6 separate regions of the Homo sapiens genome follow, and all the other regions are linked to region 1. The links are contacts of gene promoters, found by promoter capture Hi-C in blood cells and fetal thymus (Javierre and others, 2016). All regions are on one chromosome and are shown on one strand. The core of a region is centred on a gene start or on the middle of the fragment in contact, and the rest is flanking DNA. Distances in the headings are between cores, read along the strand shown. Region 1 holds the start of SGO1-AS1 (SGO1 antisense RNA 1). Region 2 overlaps EFHB (EF-hand domain family member B). Region 3 has its middle 4.7 kb from the start of RAB5A. Region 4 overlaps RAB5A (RAB5A, member RAS oncogene family). Region 5 overlaps PP2D1 (protein phosphatase 2C like domain containing 1). Region 6 holds the start of PP2D1 (protein phosphatase 2C like domain containing 1).

Evidence for each region. The method cuts DNA at HindIII sites, captures the fragments that hold promoters and counts their contacts. A CHiCAGO score of 5 or more calls a contact.
Region 2: a contact is called between a fragment that was not itself captured here and the fragment with the promoter of SGO1-AS1 in region 1, in 1 of 17 cell types (neutrophils). The highest score is 8.7, in neutrophils.
Region 3: a contact is called between a fragment that was not itself captured here and the fragment with the promoter of SGO1-AS1 in region 1, in 1 of 17 cell types (non-activated CD4 T cells). The highest score is 7.0, in non-activated CD4 T cells.
Region 4: a contact is called between a fragment that was not itself captured here and the fragment with the promoter of SGO1-AS1 in region 1, in 6 of 17 cell types (neutrophils, total CD4 T cells, non-activated CD4 T cells and 3 more). The highest score is 10.5, in neutrophils.
Region 5: a fragment that was not itself captured here is called in contact with the fragment with the promoter of SGO1-AS1 in region 1 in 1 of 17 cell types (neutrophils); the score reaches 7.3 in neutrophils.
Region 6: the fragment with the promoter of PP2D1 here is called in contact with the fragment with the promoter of SGO1-AS1 in region 1 in 9 of 17 cell types (neutrophils, total CD4 T cells, non-activated CD4 T cells and 6 more); the score reaches 12.0 in neutrophils.

Annotation. Positions count from the first base shown.
Region 1 is chr3:20,173,002-20,175,535 of GRCh38, forward strand. SGO1-AS1 (SGO1 antisense RNA 1) reads left to right here and starts at 1,285. Exons shown (of 4, transcript NR_132785.1): 1 at 1,285-1,524; 2 at 1,734-1,817. It overlaps SGO1 (shugoshin 1), which reads right to left. Exons shown (of 8, transcript NM_001199251.3): 6 at 1,248-2,054. The HindIII fragment of the contact is 5,926 bases long and covers 1-2,534 here.
Region 2 is chr3:19,922,148-19,926,659 of GRCh38, forward strand. All of the region lies in intron 1 of EFHB (EF-hand domain family member B), which reads right to left. Among named protein-coding and RNA genes, the nearest start is that of EFHB, 9.8 kb to the right of the region's middle. The HindIII fragment of the contact is 4,788 bases long and covers 164-4,512 here.
Region 3 is chr3:19,940,187-19,944,698 of GRCh38, forward strand. It overlaps a transcript of EFHB not described here and the pseudogene HSPA8P18. Among named protein-coding and RNA genes, the nearest start is that of RAB5A, 4.7 kb to the right of the region's middle. The HindIII fragment of the contact is 1,731 bases long and covers 948-2,678 here.
Region 4 is chr3:19,958,798-19,963,309 of GRCh38, forward strand. The region is part of intron 2 of RAB5A (RAB5A, member RAS oncogene family); the gene reads left to right. Among named protein-coding and RNA genes, the nearest start is that of RAB5A, 14 kb to the left of the region's middle. RefSeq lists an enhancer at 2,020-2,189. The HindIII fragment of the contact is 5,997 bases long and covers 1-4,512 here.
Region 5 is chr3:19,991,817-19,996,328 of GRCh38, forward strand. All of the region lies in intron 2 of PP2D1 (protein phosphatase 2C like domain containing 1), which reads right to left. Among named protein-coding and RNA genes, the nearest start is that of PP2D1, 18 kb to the right of the region's middle. The HindIII fragment of the contact is 6,106 bases long and covers 1-4,512 here.
Region 6 is chr3:20,010,290-20,014,801 of GRCh38, forward strand. It overlaps PP2D1 (protein phosphatase 2C like domain containing 1), which reads right to left and starts at 1,975. Exons shown (of 3, transcript NM_001252657.2): 1 at 1,761-1,975. The coding sequence starts at 1,783. It also overlaps the pseudogene RPL39P18. The HindIII fragment of the contact is 22,515 bases long and covers 1-4,512 here.

The sequences.
Region 1 (2,534 bases), core at 35-2,534:
TTTTCTGGACATTTTTAAATGTACACAAAGATGGCAATAACAGTATAATAAACTCTGAGTTACCCAGGTCCAATAATTATCAACACTTTGACAATCATGTTTGATTTATTCTAACATCATTATAGCATTTTTGCTTTTTTTTTTTTTGAGACTGAGTTTCGCTCTTGTTGCCTAGGCTGGAGCGCAATGGCATGGTCTCGGCTCACTGCAACCTCTGTTTCCTGGGTACAAGCAATTCTTTTTCTCCTGCCTCAGCCTCCCGAGTAGCTGGGATTACCGGCACATACCACCAGGCCTGGCTCATTTTTTTGTATTTTTAGTAGAGATGGGGTTTCACCATGTTGGCCAGGCTGGTCTTGGACTCCTGACCTCAGGTGATCCGCCCACCTCAGCCTCCCAAAGTGCTGGGATTACAGGCGTGAGCCAACCCGCCCGGCTTACAGCATATTTTTAAAAAAGATACTTGCCTGCTACCACTGACTAACTGGCCGATTTAGAAAGTTGGTTTGGTTTTTAAGGTTTTAATCTCCTTACAAACAAAATAAGCATCATAACACCTATACTTCACAGAATTGTTCTGAGGATCAAATAAAATGATGTGACAATATTTTGAAAATGATACAACTTGACTATAAATGTTAGTTTTACTTGTATTAACTAAAATTGCCAAATGAGAATCTTTGTGGACAGGTGTAGGTTGTATTACGAACATTTGAACTATGCCTACTTTTGATCTAATAAAATATTTTCTGAGCCAGTTTTTAGAGATGTCGTACAAAAGAATACTAAGCCTATCAATTGAGGAAATCTTCACTAACTAGAAGATTATTTTAAATCACGGTTCCTGTCAAATTTAATATAAAACAAGGCCATTAAAATAACAAGTCACTGGATTCAAATTTGATTTCACTTTCAAGGGGATACTTCAGTTAAGTGTATAAAAGCTACTTCAATTCAACCTAAGTCTACAAAAAAGTCCCTCTGTCCCCTTGGGAGTCCTAATTTACTGAAAATAAAAATTCTGTCTCCATAACAAGCAATCTCTGAATTAGGTCAGAGCAATACAACTGTGATTTCCACACCCAGCCCCCCACTGTTTAATCAGACCATAACTTCCACCAAAGAGAGACAGATGGTAAGTCTCCAACCTCCACCAGAGAAACAGATGGTAAGTATAGTATATAAGCATCAGGAGTGATCATTTATCACGAACATTAAAAATACAGGTAAACAAGTAGATCACTTACTGGTAGGAGTTTTTGTTGGCTTAGAACCCTCCGTCTCTTTTTCATCTGTGTATTTCAGTGCTCTTTTAGCTAGAGGCCTGGTGACTGGTCTATCTGAATTGCTCGTGGGATTCTGAATGTACTTGCAAGTGGGCAAATAGAGGTCATCGGAATCATCTCCTGAACCACTTGATTCACAGAGGCTCACTTCAGACTCGTTGTTTTCTTCTCTATTAGAGTCATTGCTCACTTTTTGTCGGAAAGGAGTAAGATGAACACCCTCTTCCAAATTAAAATTGTAAGCATCATTGGAACTGACAGATTTGTGCATTTTTTTTTGGGGAACAGTTTTTTTATTTTCGCTTTTATTCTCTTTATATTTTGACATACGTTTTGATTTTCTCCTGTTAGCTTTTCTTTTCTCTTCTCTTTTTCTTTCTTGTGTATCTCTTTGCTTACTTTTAGTTTGTTCAGATTTAGATTCTAAAATGTCTTCTTTTGTTTTAGTAAACGTTCCTGGCTGAATCAGCTTTGGTGATAAGTTAACTTGGTCCTTGCTCCATTGACAAGCATTGTGTTGTACATTTTCAGGTATGTGCATGTTTACTAGTGGGTCTAAAAATCCAACTCTTTCGAATTCAAAAGACTTCCCTGCCAAATGACTGGTTTCAAAATCATCCAAGCTATCAAACTGACATATACTGTTACAATGTTTCTTTAAACTGCTACGAACAGATACAGTTCTAGGTAAGACATTATCAGTAGACTTAGCTTCACCTGAATCAAAATCAACTCCCAGTGTGTCTTGAGGAATAGTAGGTATCTGATCTGAGAATTTAAAAAATAAATGAGAAAAGTAGTTTTACTTTGTGGAAATTTGAATTTCAAGAACTTTAGAATTCAAACTAAAAAAGTGAATGACCAAAAGGTCATTCTGTAGTTTTCCTACATTATAAAATCTGTAAATAAAAACCTGGGAACTTAAATATTACCATCTATTTACTTGTCAGTGATCAACTGATGGCTTATATCTGACATGTGAAAGAATCTTGTACAGGTTCAGTATCCCTAATCTGAAAATCTGAAATCCAAAACTTTTTTAGTGCAGTCATGATGCTCCAAGGAAATGCTAACTGGAGGGTTTTGGATTTCAGATTTTCAAATTAGGGATGATGAACTGATATAATGTAAATACTCCAAAATTTAAAAAATAAATCCAAAACACTTCTGGTCCCAAGCATTTTGGATAAGGGACATTCAATCTTTATAATCTTTAAAAACATTATAGGCCAGGCACGGTGGCTTACG
Region 2 (4,512 bases), core at 1,308-3,807, 250 kb before region 1:
AGAGCAAAACTCCATCTCAAAAAAAGAAAAATAAAATTATGAAGGGAATCAGAATATGCTGTCCAAAAATATGCCACTTTTGCATATGGATTATTCTGAGCTGAAGGCAGTTAAGAATCAGCAGATACAGGAAGAGTTCAACACTTGGAAGAAGGTGTGGTAAAGCTTGGATATGAAAATAGAAAGATTGGTTGAAAGTGTGTATTCAGGGCAATTGTATCCCCAGTTCTTCTTCATCCTATGTTATCCTTGTCTTCACACAAACTCTCAACCCCTCTTGCCAAACTGTGGATGTGTTTTTGCAAAGGGGTTTTGTAGCCAGAAACATCAAACCCAAGGTAAGGTAGCGGGGCATTAATAGGAGCATTAATAAGTAAAAGTATACTTTCTGTAATGCATTTCCTCTAGCTTCCTCTCCCACTGGGCCCTGGAAAGCCAGCAGCCAGGAGTTAAGCCAGCCCTCTAGCCAGTGGGCAGTGTATAGGAAAGGCAGTAGCGCATCATGAATATAAATAGAGATTTGGAAGCCAGCTTTCTTGGGTTCAAATATCTGCCAATAAATAAGCTGTGTCACCCTGTTACTCAGCCTCAATTTGCTCACAATGGAGATGGTGATAACAGTACCAACCTCATAGAGATCGTTGAGAATTAAATGAGTTAATACATATAAAACGCTTAGAACAGTGTCCACACATGCTATGTGCTATATAAGTTTCAACTATTATTACATTACTATTCTCTGGAAAATCTGAATAACCTAGAAGAAAAAAATTAATATTCGGGACTCTCCCAAAATAAAGGCTGCCTCATCTCTTCATCACCCTATAACAATGCCCCAGCCAGATGCAGTGGCTCACACCTGTAACCCCCAGCACTTTGGGAGGCAAAGGCGGGCGGATCACAAGGTCAGGAGTTCAAGACCAGTCTGACCAACATGATGAAACCCCGTTGCTACAAAAAAATATAAAAATTAGCCAGGCATGGTGGCGCATGCCTGTAGTCCCAGCTACTTGGGAGGCCCAGGCAGGAGAATCACTGGAACCCAGGAGGCGGAGGTTGCAGTGAGCCGAGATTGCGCCACTGCACTCCAGCCTGGGCAAAAAGAGTGAAACTCTGTCTCAAAAGGAAAAAAAAAAAAAGCCCCAAGGTAAACAAGCCATGCAACACACACACAGCTAATAATTTTCTTTGTAGTACCTAATGTTTCATTTGTTTTGTTTTGTTTTTGAGACAGGGTCTGATTCCGTCTTCTAGGTCAGACTGCAGTGGTGCAGATGTCAGCTCACTGCAACCTCTGCCTTTCAACCTCAGCTCACTGCAACCTCTACCATCCTCCCACCTCAGCCTCCCTAGTGACTGGGACTACAAGTGTGGGCCACCATGCCTAGCTAATTTTTGTATTTTTTTTGTAGAGACGAGTTTTTGACATGTTGCACAGGCTGGTCTTGAACTTCTGAGCTCAAGTGATCTGCCTGCCTTGGCCTCCCAAAGGGGTGGGATTACAGGCATGAGCCACCACGCCCAGCCTGCCTAATGTTTTAATATGAATTATTAGACTCCAGTTTGAAAGGGAGGGGCAAAACAAGCTAATAAAAAACATACACAAACATAGAGGGAATAGGAAAATGTAAATAAACAAAAGAGATTACCTGAGAGATATAAGATGTTGCATTTATTGCATTTATAAAACTATATTAGAAATTCTAAAAGACAACCTGAGAAGAAATAACTCTTTAGAATTTAAATATGATAATCTAAATAAAATTTCTACTTTTCACCTATTGTTTTAATATGTACTGATGAGCTGGGCATGGTGGCCCATGCCTATCATCCCAGCACTTTGGGAGGCTGAGGCAGGAGGACTGCTGGAGCCCAGGGTTCAAGACCAGCCTGGGCAACAAAGTGAGACCCTTATCTCTTTAAAAAAATAATAATAACTAGTGATGATTCTTTCCTAAATCATTATTCCTATGATGGTTGCCAAATGAGGACTTTCTAATTTTAGCATTCTTTCTATATTTATTAATTGCATTATACTGCAAGGAAGTTTTCTTTTCTCTCTCTCTCTCTTTTTTTTTTTTTTTGAGACAGAGTCGTCCTCTGTTGCCCAGGCTGGAGTGCAGTTGTGTGATCTTGACTCACTATAACCTCCGCCTCCCAGGTTCAAGTGATTCTCCTGCCTCAGCCTCCCGAGTAGCTGGGAATACAGGCACATGCCACCACGCCCGGCTAATTTTTGTATTTTCAGTAGAGACGGGGTTTCCCTATGTCGGCCAGGCTGGTCTCAAACTCCTGACCTCGTGATCCTCCCTCCTCAGCCTCCCAAAGTGCTGGGATTACAGGCATGAGCCACTGCGCCAGGCCTTTTCTCACTATTTATTCACACATTTATGTATTTACATCCCTATGTACTCGTGGATTTCTATTTTATTCAATGGTAATTTTATTCAATACTCAATGTACACCAGTTTGGTCTAGGGGAAGACTCATCAACCTTGTTTCTTCAAGTTTGTTTTATATCTGCATGATTCTTTAGGATTCTTCTCATTTTTTTGCTCATGAGGATGTTCCATGTTCATATTGTACTTGCCTGTGCAAGTCCTAGAGTCAGCCATTTCTCCAAGGAGCTTAATTTCTTTTCAAAGAGAATAGTACATGGCACATGTATACATATGTAACTAACCTGCACATTGTGAACATATACCCTAAAACTTAAAGTATAATAATAAAAAAAAAGAAATAAAGATCTGGATTTTGGTGTGCTCTTTGCTACTAGAGAAATACCGCTTCTAAGCTCTCTTAAATAGAGTTAGGATGGCCGGGCGCAGTGGCTCACACCTGTAATCCCAGCACTTTGGGAAGCCGAGGTGGGCGGATCACGAGGTCAGGAGATCAAGACCATCCTGGCTTAAACGGTGAAACATCTCTACTAAAAATACAAAAAATTAGCCGGGCATGCTGGCCGGCACCTGTAATCCCAGCTACCCGGGAGGCTGAGGCAGGAGAATGGCGTGAACCAGGGAGACGGAGCTTGCAGTGAGCCGAGATCCGGCCACTGCACTCCAGCCTGGGCGACAGAGCTAGACTCCTTCTCAAAAAAAAAAAAAAAAAAATAGAGTTAGGAAATGTATGAATAGACAAACACCCCCGCACACTTGCATGTATATTGATCCTATAATATTCTGTCTAGTTAAATGTGTGTAGTTAGAATCCATGGTCATAGATATATAGATATATCATAAATGTATATGAATACCTCTAATCACAATCCAACACAACAGGATTCATTCTATTCTCCTTTCCATATTTATAACACTTTTCTCTGTCAGTGAGAAAAGGGTTATTGTCCTAAATAACCCTGGCATTATTGTCCTAAATATATTTACTTATCTGCTTAGGCTTTCTGTCTGTAACCCAACTCCAAACTGCACCAACCATCTCCTTGCTCAGCTGCCTCTTTGCTCGGTCCCTAACAACACCGGAGACACCTTGCTTGGCCACCTCCTCACTCAACCCCCAGTGTTACAGGCTTTAATGGCCAAGTACCTCTTTCATTTATCATACAAGTGAGTCCCAAGATTCAAGTCAACTCAGGAAGGTTGATATAAGACCATTTTCAGCTGCTCAAGACCCACAGACCCATAATCATCACACCACCTTCCACTCTTCAAACTCAATGTGGGTTAGCTTAATGGTTACAGCTCTCCCACTTGCCCTTGGTCAAGATCCCTCTGTTTTACTCAGAGAGATCCCCAATTCTAAACATCTCAGAGAGCATTAGGAGTGATGGTACCCATTCCCTTTCTGCCCAGAAGACACTGAATCCATTATGCAAATAAAAACATCCAATTCCCAGAATTCTGCAGAGATTAGCTTTGGAAATTCATACAAAATAAATCTTTTTACCTGGTATTTTCTCCAATACCAGGGCCTGCATAACTAGGAAGGTCCCACAAGATTTATTAACAGGTGGCACCTTTCCCTCCACCTATTCCCAAAATAGCTGTCAGGTTCTACTAGTATAGAACAGGAAAAAGCAAGGCACCCCTTTGCATGACATTTGTCATATCATAAAGTCATTTGTCTATTGGTCTCCAGTCTCTAAGTTCCTTGAATGCAGGTAGTATGTAATTTTTCATCTATGTGGCCCCAGCGTTTATTTGTGTATGGGTTTTTTGGTTTTTTTGGGGTTTTTTTTGTTTTTTGGGGTTTTTAAAATTTATTTATTTATTTTGAGACGGAGTCTCGCTCTGTCGCCGAGGCTGGAGTGCAGTGGCGCAATCTCGGCTCACTGCAAGCTCCACCTCCCAGGTTCACGCCATTCTCCTGCCTCAGCCTCCCGAGTAGCTGGGACTACAGGCGCCTGCCACCACACCTGGCTAATTTTTTGTATTTTTAGTAGAGACGGGGCTTCACTGTGTTAGCCGGGATGGTCTCGATCTCCTGACTTCGTGATCCCGTCTCGGCCTCCCAAAGTGCTGGGATTACAGGCTTGAGCCACCACGCCCAGCC
Region 3 (4,512 bases), core at 563-3,062, 230 kb before region 1:
GCCACAGAATTTGCTACATATTTGGGTCCTTCAGTGTTTTAAGTGTGTGGAACAATGCTACATCTGTACTTGGGCTGGCTTATTCAGTGTTGGGCCCTGAGAAAGCACCATCAGAGGGAGGAGATCCACCAACAGTGAATCCCCTAGGCATTCCTCCTGCACTCTGCTAGAGCTTTGTAATGATGGGATTGCAGACTCTCTCCAGCTCTTTCTGCTGATGTTCAAATTCTTCCTTCTCAACAGCCTGATTCTTATCTATCCAGTTAATAATTTCATTACGCCTGACAAGAATCTTCTGTTTGTCTTCATCGTGAATCTTGCCTTGAAGTTTCTCATCTTCAACAGTTGCTTCCATGTTGAATTCATAGGATTCAAGGGAATTCTTTGATGACACCTGTCTCTGCTTCTCATCTTCAGCTTTGTACTATTCAGCCTCCTGGACCACACATTTAATGTCTTTCTTGCTAAAATGGCCCTTGTCATTAGTGACAGTAATCTTGTTCTTTTTCCTGTACTCTTGTGCACAGCAGAGACACTGAAGATGCCATTGGCATCAATATCAAATGTGACTTCAATGTGAGGAACACCTTGGAGTGCCAAAGGTATGCCTGTGAGTTGAAACTTGCCAAGCAGGTTGCTATCCTTGGTCATGACATGCTCACCTTCATAAACCTGAATAAGCACATCAGGCTGCCTGTCAGAGTAGGTAGTGAAGGTCTGTCTGCTTGGAAGGAATGGTAGTATTATGCTTAATGAGAACAGTCATGACTACACCATCGGTTTCAATACCATGGGAAGGAAGAATGACATACAAGAGCAACAAATCTTGAGCATTTTCAGATTTGTTGCCAGACAGAATGGCTGCTTGGACAGCTGCACCATAAGCAACAGCTTCATTAGGGCTGATGCTCTTATTCAGTTCTTTTCCATTGAAAAAGTCTTGGAGAAGCTTCTGAATCCTGGGGATAAAAGTAGAACCACCATCCAGGAAAATATCATGAATCTGTGACTTGTCTAGTTTGGTGTCTTGAAGGGCTTTCTCTATAGGGTCCAGGTGTCACAGAACAGGTCAGCATTCAGTTCTTCAAATAGGGCATGTGTAAGAGGTATAGACATTGATTCATTCATAGAGAAAATGGATCTCAATACTAGCCTGGCTGCTCAAGAAAGAGTGTACTTAGCATGTTCACAAGCAGTATGGGGATGTCAGACAGCTCTCTTATTCTCACTGATGTCCTTTGTATGCTTGTACTTGAACTCAGCAATAAAATGGTGGACCACTTGGTTGTCAGTGTTTTCCACCTAAGTGGGTGTCTCCTGCTGTAGATTTCACCTCAAAGATTCCATCCTCAACAGTGAGGACTGACACATTAAAAGTGCCACTTCCAGGTCAAGCGCAATGGCTCACGCCTGTAATCCTAGCACTTTGGGAGGCTGAGGCAGGCGGATCACCTGAGGTCAAGAGTTCAAGACCAGCCTGGCCAACATGGAAAAACCCCGTCTCTACTAAAAATACGAAAATTAGCTGGGCATGGTGGTGCATGCCTGTAATCCCAGCTACTCGGGAGGCTGAGGCACAAGAATCGCTTGAACCCGGGAGGCAGAGGTTGCAGTGAGCCAAGATTGCGCCACTGCACTCCAGCATGAGCAACAAGAGTGAGACTCCATCAAAAAAAAAAAAAAAAGGCCAGGAACAGTGGCTCACACCTGTAATCCCAGCACTTTGGGAGGCTGAGGGGGGGCAGATCACCTGAAGTCAGGTGTTTGAGACCAGCCTGGCCAACATGGTGAAACCACGTCTCTACTAAAAATACAAAAAAAATTACCCAGGCGTGGTGGTGGGCACCTGTAATCCTAACTACTCAGGAGGCTGAGGCAGGAGAATCACTTGAACCTGGGAGGCAGAGATTGCAGTGAGCCGAGATCGCACCACTCCAGCCTGGGTGACAGAGCGAGAATCCATCTCAAGAAAATAAATAAATAAAAATTTAAAAGTACCACTTCTAAGGTCAAAGATCAGCACATTTCATTGAGCTCCAACCTTTTGCCTAAGGCATAAGCAATAGAAGCAGCAGTTAGCTCATTGATAATTCTCAGTACATTGAGATAAGCAATAGTTCCAGCATCTTTGGTAGCTTTGATGCTGAGAATCATTAAACCAAGCTGATATTGTGACCACAGCATTGGTAACACTCTTTCCAAGGTAGGCTTCTGCCATTTCCTTCATCTTTGTCAGAATAACAGAGCAGCTGTCCCCAACCTTTTTGGCACCAGGGACCAGTTTCATGGAAGACAATTTTTCCACAGACCAAGTTGCAGGGGGTAGGATCGGGGGAAGATAGTTTTAGGACAATTCAAGCACATTACATTTATTGTGCACTTTATATTATTATTACATTGTAATATATAATGAAATAATTATATAACTCACCATAATGTACAATCAGTAGGAGCCCTGAACTTGTTTTCCTGCCACTAGACGGTCCCATCTGGAGGTGATGGAAGAGAGTGACAGATCATCAGGCATTAGATTGTCATAAGAAGTGCTAGATCCCTTGTGTGTGCAATTCACAATAGAGTTCACACTCCTATGAGAATCTAATGCTGCCACTGATCTGACAGGAGGGGGAGCTCAGGTGGTAATGTGAATGATGGGGAGCAGCTGTAAATACAGATGAAGCTTCACTGACTTGCTGCCACTCACCTCCTGCTGGGCAGCCAGTTCCTAACAGGCCACAGTCCAGTACCAGTCCATGGCCCTAGAGGACACCTTTCTGGACAGAAGTTTTTTTTATCTCTCCCTTGTATTCTACTTGGACCTTGGGCCTGCCAACATTATTCACTACCATGAAGGGCCAATGCTTCATATCAGACTGGACAACAGCATAATCAAGTCTGTGTCCAATCAGCAATCAGATTTGGCATCAAAAACTGTGTTCATGGGGTTCATTGCAACTTGATTCTTTGTGGCATCACTGAGCAATTGTTCAGTATCAGTAAAGGTGACATAGCTTGGAGTGATTCAATTTCCCTGATCATTGGCAATTACCTCTATTTTTACATGCTGGAAAACACCCACACAAGAGTAGATGGTGCCAAGATGAATACCAACTGCAGGTCCTTTAAACAGGGTTGTTTGCATGTAGGCCGGATTGGATTCTGAAGAAAGACATAGGAACCCCAAAAGTGGCCACAGCATTCAATAAATCCCCATAAATTCTTCAAATGACTTTGCAGTATGTAAATCCAGGTAAGGGCTCATTCAATTCATTCATTCATTCTACAAACAGGTATTGAGTCCCTCCCTATTTTGTGTCAGTGTTGGGAATACAGTTAGCCCTCTGTATTCCATCGAAAGTATTTGAGTTAAAAAATGAAAAAAACACAAAATAATACAAATTAAAAAAATACAACTATTTACATATCATTTACATTGTATTACTTATTGTAAGTAATCTGAAGATGATTTAAAGCATACAGAATAGCCTACATGCAAATACTACACCATTTTACATGAGACTAGAGCATCTGCAAATTTTGGTACCCATATGGTGGGGGAATAAGGGAGTGTCCAAGAACCAATCACAAGCAGATGGACTGACTGTATAACCCAACCCCTATCTCATGGAGCTTATATTCTAGTAGGGATAGATAACCATTAAGTGGAACGATGCGTAATATCATATCAAATGGTGCTAAGTGTTATGAAGACAATGCATAATATCATATCAAACAGTGCTGTTATGAAGACAACAGACTACTTCGATATGTAACAAAGCATTTAGAATTAGTGGGCTTAGAAGTCCCTTAGGTAGATGACATTTGAGCTGAAGCCTGAATGATGCCCTCCAAAGACACAAGCTTTTGAAACATGACTAGCTTAAGTTTTCACAGCCTTTTATTCACTGACTTGCTACTACGCCAATGTTAGAGTTACCGTTGGTTTGTCTCCAGGAAAAATTTTGAATTGTCTCCAGACAGTTCCAGTTAAAAGTAAATGTAACCATTCATTATCATCTATGCAAAGATTCATTCTTTAGCTACACAAGGGAGGACAGATTTCCTGGAAGAGAAGGAAAAGGTTATGGGATCCTGTGAATGGTAGAGAGACACCTGCCACTGGGAATTTGTTATTGAGTATTTAGAGATTTGAGGGCAGTATAAGCATCAAAGACAGTGTTTAAGTCTTCATGATTATTTATCCATTTTGTACCTTCCTTAACAAGTTCTATCAACTGGTAGGACTCCACATTTGACACTAAAATATATACAATTATCAGTCCTCCTCAGTTATCTGGGGCTATGAAAAAGAAAACATAGGCATATTGCAAGTGGCAATAAAACAACAGAGCTTTACTGTGTCATTTCAATTTCTCTAAAACTACTACCGGATCTTTAGAAATGCCAGCCACCAGGGCAGCACTCTTCCAGGCAAACATTATGACTAAACTGTAAAATATTGTGAAAAGTATTCATGAAGGAGGTGAAGACAAAATCACTAAACAGGAACGA
Region 4 (4,512 bases), core at 928-3,427, 210 kb before region 1:
GCACTTCAACCTGGGTGACAGGGCGCTGAGGTAGGGGAGACTGAGACATGAGAATTGCTTCAACCTGGGAGGCGGAGGTTGCAGTGAGCTGAGATCGCACCACTGCACTTCAACCTGGGTGACAGAGCGAGACTCTGTCTCAAAAAAAGAAAAAAGGATTCTTGTAGAGCAGATGTTCTTATAAACTGTGTACTCTTCTCATTAAACAATACAGTCAATACAATTTAACTTTTGTTTTCTTAAAATGTATTTCAAGATTTGGAATCATTATGAGCATCAGTTTTTGCCTTGCCGTGCTTAATGTGTTGATGTCCTCTGGTGCTTTGGAAGTATTCAAGCTGTTTGGTAGAATGATTTTGCCAAATAGCTCTTAGTGAACTGCTACTGATTCACTAATTTACTGCTTTTATTTGTTATATATGGGAAATATTAGGTTGTCTAAAGCAAATCAAAATAAAACCAGAAATCATCTCTGATGATTCTAAAACTAGAAATCAGGGACAACTTCTTGGTATAGTTTGAGAGACAGATTGAGTGAACATTGTAATCTGGTGCTATATATTAAAGGTTTTTAAAAGTGATATTATATGCCACTTTTTAAAAATTAAGCCTAAATCTCCAACTGATCTTCTTGTTATGTACTAATTTATATATATATATATGTATGTATATATAAATCAATCTCCAAAAGAAGATATACATAGAAAGTGGTCTCAGTTACATTCCGAGGAAATCTGTAAATTTGCATAACCTTTAGTGCATGGACTTTGTGAGATTTATTCTGGCTGCATTTACTCTTCTTTTGCTAGCTTTCTGGTTGTGTTCTGATTTTTTTTTTTTTTTTTTTTGAGGCAGGGTCTTGCTCTGTTGCCCAGGGTGAAGTGCAATGATGTGATCATGGCTCTCTGCAGCCTCAGCCTCTTGGGTCAAGCAGTCGTCTCACCTCAGCCTCCCAAGTAGCTGGGACTACAGGTGTGCACCACCATGCCTGGCTAATTTTGAAATTTTTGTAGAGGCGACGTCTTGCTGTGTTGCCCAAGCAGGTCTTAAAACTCCTGACCTCAAGTGATCTCCTGGCTTGGCCTCCCAAAGTGCTGAGATATAGCCATGAGCCACCGCGCTAGGCTGTGTTCTGAATATATAAGGTTTCCAGATAATTGATCTTTTTGGAGACACACTCAGAGGCACATGAAAGACACTTGGTTTTGAATAATAATTGGTGGAGGCTGTGGGATGGGAAGTGTTTTAAAATTTTGCTTTTAGAATAGAATAAGAATTCTTACTTGATAGAAACATGGGAAATTTTGGCAAACTGTTTCTCCCTTTTTTAGGTCATATACCATAATAACCTGACATTGCATATACATAATCTTGTTTATGAAGTATGCTGAGTAAATTTATGATAGGATAGTATCATTTGGAGTTACATCAAAAGCCTTTTCAGCAAACCTCTTTGTGAAGGAGAATAAAGATGTGTGAGAGTAAGAAAAGCAATAAGAGTACTTCTAAAGGTTTTTGTTTTTGAGATGGGGTCTCGCTCTGTGCTAGACTGGAGTGCAGTGGCATGATCATGGCTCACTGCAGCCTCAACTTCTGGGCTCCAGCCATCTTCCCACCTCAGCCTCCTGAGTAGCTGAGACCACAGGCATGTGTGCCCCTGCCCCCGGCTAATTTTGTATTTTTGGTAGAGATGGCTATTCTCCATGTTTCCCAGGCTGGTCGCGAACTCCTGAGCTCAAGCAATCAACCTGCCTTAGCCTCCCAAAGTGCTGGGAATACAGGCGTAAGCCACTTTTTCAGGCATCATTTTTTGTCTTTTAATTCATTGGCTACCTTGATGTATATGTAAACTTTAGTTACCTAGTTGCTAAATTCCTCAAGATGAAAGTTAAGTGTTACTGAAGTCATATGTTGGACTTTGAAAATAAGAATGCTCTACAAATCAGAATATCTGAAGTAAGTGTTGCTAAACAGCATTCATCCTCCGTTTGAGGAAAGGTAGAAGCAGGATGAAGAACCGGTTAGTTATTCATGGTTTTTTAAGCCTTAAGTGTTCGCAGTAGTAGTTGTTGGATATTCTTTGGGCCCCAAAGAAGAAGTGGGTAATCTTGATACATGACTAGTCACTGCATAATTATCAGACACCTTCAGCTTTTCTCAGTCAAAAAACTGTTCTTTATCTTTGCATAAAACTAGAGCCAGAATATATTCCACCTAGTTACTATCGTTTTTATTTGAGGTATAACATGAATAGAATTTTCTCCTCTATTGCATTCATAAGTAATTTGTAAATTTTAGAAAAATGTGACTTCTAGGAAATAAAGGATAATTTAAAGATAGGACACTTATAATAATTACTTGTTATGTGATACATTCCTAGAACTTAAACAGGATTTTCAGAAGTTTCATCTGTACCTTACCATGGCTATATGGGAAGGTACTAATTTTATAGACAAGGAAACTGAAGCAATAAAGGTTAAGTATATGCTTGAAGTTTTGCAACTAGGTGACAGCTGGGATTAAAGACATCTTTCTGAAATGCCATTCATGTTCTGGAATGTACTGTGTATGTGTGTATTTCTCCTTGCAAGAACCTATCAGACTAGAAAATTTGGCTCATAGTTAGAGTACACATGACAAGTGTTCTGTTAAATAATATGTAGTATTTGACAGGTAGGGGCCTTCTTGCTATGTATCACTTAAGGAAAATAATGTGAAAGTATTTTGAGAACAAAAGAATATAAGACGATTATTTAAATTGTCCATATTCCTAAATTATCACCACCATTTTCATTTTTATGCCATCATCATGTGTCACACGCTATATTTTAACTGCCTTTAATCAAATGCATTAATTTGTTCATGTGAGTCAAAATTCAAGAAGTTTATAAGGTTTACAGTGAAAAATCTCCCCCTCATCTTCTATCTAGCCCACTCAGTTCTTTTTCCCAAAGATGATGTTACTTTGTTATATATCCTTGCAAAGTTACTACTATACTCAAATCTATATATTCTTGTCTCCCTTTTTACAAAATTTGAAATATGTCAGATGTACTGTAATACACTTTTTATTTTTCACTTTAATGCTGTTCTAGTTATCTATTGCTGAGACACAAATGACTCCTCCAAAATGTAGAGACTTAAAATTATTTTGTCATCTCCATGGTTCTGGTGAGTGGGCTTAGTAGGTGGTTCTCACTCTGATCTTTTCCTTGCTCTTGCAGTTCATTACGGGGCAAGAATCATCTCAACACATCCGGCAGTTGGTGCTGGCTATTGGTTGGGACCTCAGATGGGGCTGTTAGCTAGAACACACCTACATGTAGTAGCCTTTTATGACTTTGCTCCAGAAGTCACATAGATAGATAGCATCTGTTCTATTCTAGTCACAGGCCTGTACAGATTCAAGGGAAGAGTGTCAACATCACACTGTAAGAAGAATGTGGTGTAGAATGTCTTGTTGCAGCTGCCTTAGAAAATACAATCTACAGGCTGGGCGTGGTGGCTCACACCTGTAATCCCAGCACTTTGGGAGACTGAGGTGGGCAGATCACGAGGACAGGAGTTCGAGACCAGCCTGACTAACATAGTGAAACCCCTTCTCTACTAAAAATACAAAAATTAACCGGGCATGGTGGCGCGTGCCTGTAGTCCCAGTTACTCGGGAAGGCTGAGGCAAGAGAATGGCTTGAACCTGGGAGGTGGAGGTTGTGGTAAGCTGAGATTGCACCACTGCATTTCAGCCTGGGCAACAGAGCGAGAGTCCATCTCAAAAAAAAAAAGTACTGTCTGCCGTAAGACCTATCTATATCAAAAGAACGTCCGCATTTTTCTTGGCTGTAACAGTATTCCCTTGCATGGGTCATATTAGTAATATCAGTTCTCTAGTTTTAGATATGCACATTGTTGTATCTTTGGCTATAATAGTACTGTACTAAATAACAGCAGTAATTTCTCACATATTCTGAGTATATCTGCAGTATATATTTTTAGAGCCCAGTGTGTTTGGTTTCTCTTTTCTTTTTTGATTTTTTTTTGAATCGGGGTGTCACTTGCCCAGGCTGGTGTGCAGTGACGCTGTCATAGCTCACTGCAGCCTTGAACTCCTGGGCTCAAATGATATTTCCACTTCAGCCTCCCAAATAGCTGGGACTACAGGTATGCACCAACACACTTGGCTGATTTTTAAATTTTTGTAGAGAAGGGTTCTCATGTTGCCCAGGGTAGTCTCAAACTCCTGGCCTCAAGCCATCCTCCTACCTTGACCTCCCAAAGTGTTGGGATTAAAGGCATGAGCCACCATGCCCAGCCTGTGTTTAGTTTTTCTGTGAACTATTCATAACCTCATGTTACTTCTATGTAGATTTCTTTATAATAGTCACACTACTGTGTTCCATTTGATTTATTAATGGTAATATTTCTCAGTACATCTATATTGTCATATTTTAGTATCTGGCAATCTTCTCTTTTTATTATTTTTTAACTGTTCCATTGTTGGGCATTTAATGTTTG
Region 5 (4,512 bases), core at 684-3,183, 180 kb before region 1:
AGGGGAAATGAAAAATGTTTCATTTCAGACCCATTTATAAAAGAATTATAAGAAAATGCGAAGTAGAATTACAGGCTTAAGATAGTAGGCAGTGGTAACTTGGAACTTAGGGAAAATTGAAATAGTTACTGGGGAAAGGAAAAATTACAATTGTAAAGGAGCATAGGTAAATTAGGATTGCATGTAAATAAGGTTAGGGGAAACAGTCTGTATCCAGTTTTTCTTCAGTGCTGTAGTTTCAGCAAAAGAGGCTGAATTTGTTTAATTTTATGCATGGACAGGAGCTTTGTGACTTCCTAAGAATGGTTAGCATAAGAGTCTTATTCATGTTGAACTAGCTTTCATTGGATGTTCAAAATGTCCTTTTGTTTTATAGATGTGTGATCATGAAATTCATGTCCATTGTTCATTGCTCACCATTGTACCCCTAAAGCCTAACTATATTACGCACAAGTCTCAACTATGTGTGAAATATTTGTTGAATGTGTTCTCAGAATCAGGTTTGTAAGCATGTGAGAGTTCCTCAGCACCACCATCAAAAAAAACGGAGAAGGGGAAGGGAAGGTATATAAAATGTCAGTGTTAAGAATTTGGCTTTTTTCCTGCACAAAATTGAAGGAGATTCTGGAGTTGAATTAGACTTTAGGGGAAAACGGTAGGGATGGGGATAATTTTAAAAGCAACTTATTAAACTAGTCCAAATGAACACATTTTCACACCCATGGAAACAATCACATCTAGAGAAGAAAGACAACTTAGGTCTGCAAATACCGCATTAGTGATGAATGAAGACAGAAAGGTCCACATAAAAATGAAGATATCCTAAAAACAGGAGAAAGCTAGTACTGTTCATTTGAAGTAACCAGACTTCAAGCCTGAAAGACTGGAGTCCTGGCTCACTCACTGGTTATATAACCTTGTATAATGCTTTGATGAGCTTTAGTCTTCTGATATATTAAAAATGTGATTATCCTTTCCTCACAGATTTTGAAGATTAGATGAAAGGAGTGACGTGGCAATCTTGAGAAGGGAAGGGGGCTTCAGGTGGCCACCAATTTAAAAATTGTGATAGCCAGCTGTGGTGGCGCAGGCTGAAGGCCTAGCTACTTGGGAGGCTGAGGCAGGAGGACCGCTTGAGGCTAGGGGTTCCAGGCTGCAGTATCCTCTGAGTGAGCCTAAGAATAACCACTGCACTCCTGGCTACATAGCAAAACCTCATCTCAAAAGAAAAAGAAAAAGAGTAATAGAGAAATAGTGGGTAAAGTTGTGAAATGGTGGGTAAAGTTGTGCCTGGTCTCTGAATCTACTGTGAGCTTATGAGACAGAAAGCTAGGACACTAGAAATAAAAGTAGTTTACAGGGCCTCATTAAAAAGAATTATTAACAAATGTACAATCTAGACATAAAGATATTGGAATAACAGATACACTAAAGCACTCAAAAAGGAGCAGTAATGGGGCAGTCTGGATCTTAGATTGACCCTTCCACTGAGAACAAGTAAATATCCTGGATAATATAGCAGAAAGTGCAAAATACTCAAGACGAATAATGACTAAATTCAGGTATACCAAGAGCAGAAACCAGCTTTTACCTGAGACCATGTATTGAGCCGAATCCACGTTAAATTTTCACAAGGTGGCCAGGTGCAGTGGCTCATACCTATAATCCCAGCACTTTGGGAGGCCAAAGCAGGTGGATCACTTAAGGTCAGGAGTTTGAGACCAGCCTGGCCAACATGGTGAAACCCCGTCTTTACATAAAACAAAATTAGCTGGGCATGGTGGCACATGCCAGTAATCTTAGCTCCTTGGGAGGCTGAGGCAGGAGAATCGCTTGGACCCTGAATCCGGGAGGTGGAGGTTGCAGTGAGCCAAGATCGAGCCACTCTACTCCAGTGTGGATAACAGAGCAAGACTGTTTGTTTGTTTGTTTGTTTGTTTTGAGACGGAGTCTCGCTCTGTCGCCCAGGCTGGAGTGCAGTAGTGCGATCTCAGCTCACTGCAACCTCTACCTCCCAGGTTCAAGCAATTCTCTGCCTCAGCCTCCCAAGTAGCTGGGATTACAGGTGCCCACCCCCGGCTAATTTTTGTATTTTTTAGTAGAGATTGGGTTTCACCATGTTGGCCAGGCTGGTCTTGAACTCCTGACCTTGTGATCCACCCACCTCGGCCTCCCAAAGTTCTGGGATTACAGGAGTGAGCCACTGCACCAGGCCCAATTCTGTCTTAAAAAAAAAAAAATCACAGGTTTATGAAACAGGAGACAAAACCTAGGGATTGTCCAAGATGGGGAAGACTAAATGGCTCACCACAACAAAGCTAGGACCCCAGAGGATGATGGCCTCACTGAAACAGTGAACCAAAAATAAACCTATGCCTGTTGCCACCACACAGACTACAGAAAAAATGACTATTTCAAATTAGGCCAAAGAGAGAAAGAGGGAAGAAAGGAAGCTACAAAGAACTTGGAACTGGCTTGACATTGTAGCTCACATCTGTAATCCTGTGAGGAAAGGATAATCACATGTTTAATACATTAGAAGATTAAAGCTCATCAAAGCATCAGAGCACTTTGGGAGGCCAAATGGGAGGATCACTTGAGTCCAAGAGTTCGAGACCAGCCTGGGCAATATAACAACACCCCATCTCTGCAAAACAAAGAATGTGAAACCACCAACCTTCATGTATTTGTAGTCTGAAAGCCTCAAATGGATCACTTAGTACATATTGATAGTGTCAACAGGCAGACACCAGGCAGGAGCAAATGCAGTACTCTGGATGACACATCTCTCAAATAATTCCCCTAAACATATATTATATGGAATTTCTTATCTTTCTGGTCAAGATACAATAACAGTGACTGGATTTACACTTTCATCTGTTTTGAAGAGACAGAGCCAAGAGTCCAGGGAAACCAATGCAGCTAGAGCTTGCTGAGGACAGAATACCAGAGAGAAAAGAGAGGCACAGAGTATTCCAGATATCTTTCGAGGGTCTTTCTCAAGTGAGTCTTTCTCAAGTGTTTAGATGGGTACTGGTGAATACATGTGTGTGAGGAAACTCCACAACACTGGGAAAAGAAACATTTGAAAAGGATTAGAGGGAGCATTGCTGAGGACTCATAGGGCTGGAGAATAATTCCTGTTCCAACCAGCCAGACTGAAAAGATATTAATTCGTGAATCATTAGGTAGCATGCTTAGGAATGTTTTGCCTCAGTAGTAGAGAATAATTGGACCAAACTCAACACTGCCCTGGACTTGCCTAATAAATTACAAAAACAGGATCTAAAAGGATCAAACTATTTCCAAGTAATTTCATCCCAAAACAAAGCTGAAAACCATATATCCAAAAACACAAATTTACTCCTAACACCCACAACCTGTCAATGTGTTCTTATTGGCAAAAAAAAAAGTTTTTGCGGTTGTAGTTAAGGATTTCAAAATGATACCATTCTGGATTATCCAGGCGGGCCCAAATTCCAATGAGAAATGTCTTTGTAAGAGATACACAGAGTAGAGACACATGGGTGGAACAGTAAAATGCCATGTGAAAGTCAAGGCAGAGACTGGAATTATACAGCTGTGGGTGAGGGAATGCCTGGAGCCACCATAAGCTGGAAGACCCAAGGAAGGATTTCTACCCTAGAAGAGGCATGGCCCTGTGAACACCTTGACTTCAGGCATCTGGCCTCCTGAAGCATGAGAGAATAAATGTTTGCTGTTTTAAGCCACCAAGTTCGTGGTAACTTGTTACAGCAGCCTTAGGAAACTAGTACACCAGGCATGCCAATAAGAAGGAAAATAACACCCACGATAAGTGAAAAGTCAATCAATTGAAACCAACTCCAAAATGGCACAGATGTTGCAATTAGCAGGCATGGATATAAGTTATTATAACTGTATGCCATTTGTTCAAAAGTTAGAGACATATATGATTTTTTAAAAGTAGTATCTTTTCATACCACAATGGAATAGAACTAGTAATCAATAGCAAGAGGAACATTGGAAATTGTACAAATACATGGAAATTAAACAACATGCTCCTCAACAATCATAGGGTCAGTGAAGAAATTATAAAGGAAATCAAAAACTTCTTGAAACAAATGAAAATCAAAATATAACATACCAAAACCTATGGGATGCAGCAAAAGTGATACTAATAGGGAAATTTATAGTAATAAACTCCAAATAAACAACGTAACAATGCACTGCAAGAAACTAGGAAATCCAGGACAAACTAAACTCAAAATTAATAGAAGCAAAAAAAATAAAGATCAGAGCAGAATTAACCAAGGTAGACACTAAAAAATACACATAGGAGCAATAAAACAAAAGGTTGTTTTTATGAAAAGATTTTAAAAGTCAATAAACCATTAGCTAGCCTAAACAAGAAAAAAGAGAGAAAATCCCAAAAAAATCAGAAATGAAAAAGGAGACATTACAACAGATGCCACTAAAAAACAAAAGATCATTAGAGACTATTTGAACAACTATACCCTAACAAATTAGAAA
Region 6 (4,512 bases), core at 725-3,224, 160 kb before region 1:
TTCACCATGTTGGCCAGGCTGGTCTTGAACTCCTGACCTCAAGTGATCTGCCCACCTCAGCCTCCCAAAGTGCCGATTTACAGGTGTGAGCCACTGTGCCCAGCCTGTTATTTAATTTTATCACAATTTTTGCTGGAGTATTTTAATGCCAATCTTCAAATCATATCAACTCACCCATAAATACTTCAGTCTCAACAGTCTAATCCAATCACTTCTTCAATACCTACAATAGGCCAGGCGCAGTGGCTCATGCTGTAATTCCAGCACTTTGGGAGGCCGAGGCAGGCGGATCACCTGAGGTCGGGAGTTCGAGACTAGCCTGACCGACATAGAGAAACCCCATCTGTACTAAAAAAATACAAAATTAGCCGGGCATGGTGGTGCGTGACTGTAATCCCAGCTACTGGGGAGGCTGAGGCAGGAGAATTGCTTGAACCCAGGGGCGGAGGTTGCGGTGAGCCAAGATCATGCCATTGCACTCCAGCCTGGGCAACAAGAGCGAAACTCCATCTCAGAATAAATGAATAAATAAATAAATATATAAAAATAAAAAATACCTACAATAGGCCAGCTACCGTGCAAGGTGCTGAGATGCACAGATGGATGAGGATGCACCCTGCCCTTGAAGCTATGAGGGAAAAAGTTTGCAGTGCTGTCCATATGCTCATCCAGGTCATTAATAACAGAATGAAACAGGTCAGGTGGAGCCAAGGACAAAGTCCCATTATTGTGCCCAACCGGGAACCTAGCCCTTCATCTGGCTAGGAATGGTGTGATGAGACCTAAGAAAATGACCTAGGAAAACTCACAGCTGAGACATATTAGCAAGGGGTCCAAGGCAATATCCAAGAGAATGATCAGTTAGCCGGCAGAAGGAGCAAGAGGACCCAGCAAAAGAAATGGACAGGTAAGCAGAGAAGTAGGGGAAGAAACTGGGTCTGTCAAGGCCTTTGAGAGCTTTTGGCCAAAATATATAAAAATATTTTAATTGCTATTTTTTGGTAATATTCATGTAAAGGATGTAGTTTTATGAGCCTTGATGGACTATTGGGACAATATATAAAGCACCGCAACAGTGTGTTTTGATCTGAAGTCAATTACTTGTATCAGAACTTCATTTTTCCATACGCCGGGGACAGCCATAATACAGCTCTATCACACGTGGGCCATTCTTAGAATGTATTGCATCATTCATATGTTCATTCATTCATAATAACAAATTAAATAGGCCGGGCACAGTGGCTCATGCCTATAATCTCAGCACTTTGGGAGGCTGAGGCGGGCCTATCACTTGAGGTCAGGAATTCGAGACCAGCCTGGCCAACATAGTGAAACCCTGTCTCTACTAAAAATACAAAAATTAGCCGGGCATGGTGGCAGCCGCCTGCAGTCCCAGCTACTCGGGAGGCTGAGGTGCGAGAATCACTTGAACCCGGGAAGCGGAGTTTGCAGTGAGCCGAGATCGCGCCATTGCACTCCAGCCTGGGCAACAGAACGAGACTCTGTCTCAAAATAAATAAATAAATAAAATAAGTTAATTAATTAATTAATTAACTATAAAGACATCAGAATAAGAGCATAGAGAGGAATGGAATTCCTCTTTTGTATAAGGCAGAGGGATATATCACTCTTCAATGTACACAGTTTAACAGGAAGCCAAGGTTTCATCTGATAATTAAGAAAGTGGAAGAAAAAAATACTGTAGATATAATTACTCATTGGCTATACGTATTATCCAAAAAAGATTTAAGAAAGTTTACCTTAAAGCATTATTGGTGCTCATGTTCCTTTGGAATTACCTTTCTTTGCCCTCCCTTTATCCCCTTCCCCTGGCCTCTATTTCTCCAACTTGAGTAGTGATGGTGATGGTGGAGGTAGAGGTGAATGTGATGGCTGTGGCAGAAGTAGTGGTGATGGTGATGATAGCGATGGTGGGCATTCCCCTCACTTGATGGTAGAGCTCCCTGTGTGGAATGTTCACTACATCACCTGGAACCTCAGTCAGAACTCACTTTATGATTCAGAAGGACTGTGAAGCAATAACATCACAAGTTGTATGAAGTAAACTTTGGAATTTCTGAAAGAAGGAGCATTTGTTAAATATACTGTCTTACTCTTCCTTTCTCCGCCATCATGGTGTGTGCTTGACTCTGCTTCTCGCCATGTCTTCTCACAAAACCTTCAGGATTAAGCGTTTCCTGGCCAAGAAACAAAAGCAAAATTGTCCCATTCCCCAGTGGATTTGGATGAAAACTGGTAATAAAATCAGTAGAACTTCAAAAGGAGACATTGGAGAAGAACCAAGCTGAGTCTATAAGGAATTCCACATGAGATGGCGCACATATTTATGTTGTGTGAAGGTCACGACCACCTTACCATATCAAGCTGAAAATGTTACCACTATCTGGACAATTGGACATGTTTCACTGGGACTATATTTTTTCTTTCTGTGTGTGCTATGAAGGCACTGGTTGGCTGGGTTCAGTAATAAATATGTGAGGTCTTTCGTTTTTCTCTCTCTGCATATATATATATATATACACACACACACACATATATGTATATATATAGACAGTATATATACATAGACAGTATATATATAGTGTATATATATAGACAGTATATATATATACACATATATACATATATATGTGTATATATATACAGTATATATATATATATATATATATATATATATACTATCTTACTGCTGGATGCAGGGGCTCATGTCTGTAATCCCAGCACTTTGGGAGGCCAAGACAGGAGGATTGCTTGAGGCCTGGAGTTCAAGACCAGCCTGGGCAGCGCATATCGAGACCCCATCGCTTCAACAAAAAAAAAAAAAGAAGAAAGGAAAGAAAAATTAGCTGAGCATTGTGGCACACACCTGTAGTCCTAGCTACTCAGGAGACGGAGGCAGGAGAGTTACATGAGCCCAGGAGTTTGAGGCAGTCAGCTGCAGTCAACTATGATTGTGCCATTCCACTCCAGCCTGGGTGACAGAGCGAGACCCTGTCTTTAAAATAAATAAATAAACTGTCTTATGCCTATGTAGTAGAAATGAAAATGTAAAAGGAGTGACTGTCAATTATTTTTATAACTTGTGGCACTTTCAAATAGCCATTTTAGGAGACTATCCTTACTGTACAGATGGGATGTCTTCCCACCCAGTGTTACAGCACCTCAGGCCATCTCTCGAGGACACCTCCTCTATCTGCTCTGTAGAGCCTGCCCACCCCATCTTGCTGTCTCAATTAACTGCCTGAGAGTTGTAGATCTTGACTGGACTGCCTTCACTCTTTCCCCTGCCTTCACTCCTGACTAATATCTTTAGTTCCCAAATGTTTAATCCACAGCTGCATGCCACTCCCTTACCCCAAGGCTGAGTTAGAACAAGAGTCCTAGAGCAGGTTGCCTGAATGCTGAAGAAGTTTGGACAAGCCCAACTGTCAACTAGGTGTCTCCCTGAAGAGGTATCAAAGTCAACATGTTCAAAATGGAACTCACTAACCTTCCCTCCAGAATCTTCTTTGATCATCAACTTAGTTTAACTGGAACGTCTCAGAGAATCCCTTTTCCTGTGTGGTTCCAGGTTAAATTTGGCCAAGAAGGGAATCTTAATATTTAAAACTTAGGGGTTTATATTGGAATGCTATCATCATCCAATGAGTTCACCCACAGATGCTGAAGTGCCTAGCAGGTTTCTGCTTGTCCTTTGTTCCCCACTACTCTGCCTCCAGCTTTTCCTCCAGCTCCAGGTCTTGCTGACCAATAGCAGCCCCAGGCCTATTAGCTGGCACCCGTCTTTGGGCCCACAGAAGCAAACATTTCCTCTAGCCTTCCCCATCAGCTTCTCCTTCATGGTCCAGCTTGGGCATCTGGATGTCCCTGGCTTCTCAGACTGACTGGCTGGGGACTTCCCTGATGCCCCATCTCCTCTTCCCAGATGTTTAGTTGACCAGCTTCTCCCACAAACTAATTTTAACAATAAATCCTTTATTCCACAATGCCTAGGGTTCTGCTTTACTGACTGAACCCTAGCTAATACAGAGACCAACATCACCCCATCCTCCTTTTCAGGATATATGAAATTGATCACCAAGACCTGTCAGATCTCTCTCTCTCTCTGTCTTTTTTTTTGAGATGTATTCTCACTCTGTCGCCAGGCTGGAGTGCAGTGGCACAATCTCGGCTCACTGCAACTTCTGGCTCCTGGGTTCAAGCAGTTCTCCTGCCTCAGCCTTACGAGTAGCTGGGAATACAGGCGCTTGCCACCACACCAGGCTGATTTTGTATTTTTAGTAGAGACAGGGTTTCACCTTGTTGGCCAGGCTGGTCTCGAACTCCTGACCTCAGGTGATCCACCCTCCTCGGCCTCCCAAAGTCCTGGGATTACAGGCGTGAGCTGCCACACCCAGCCACATCTCTCTCTTCAATATCCCTCTACCCACCCACTTGTCTCCATCCCCAGTGCTATCTCATGGTTCCAGGAGGCGAAAATATCTTGCCCAG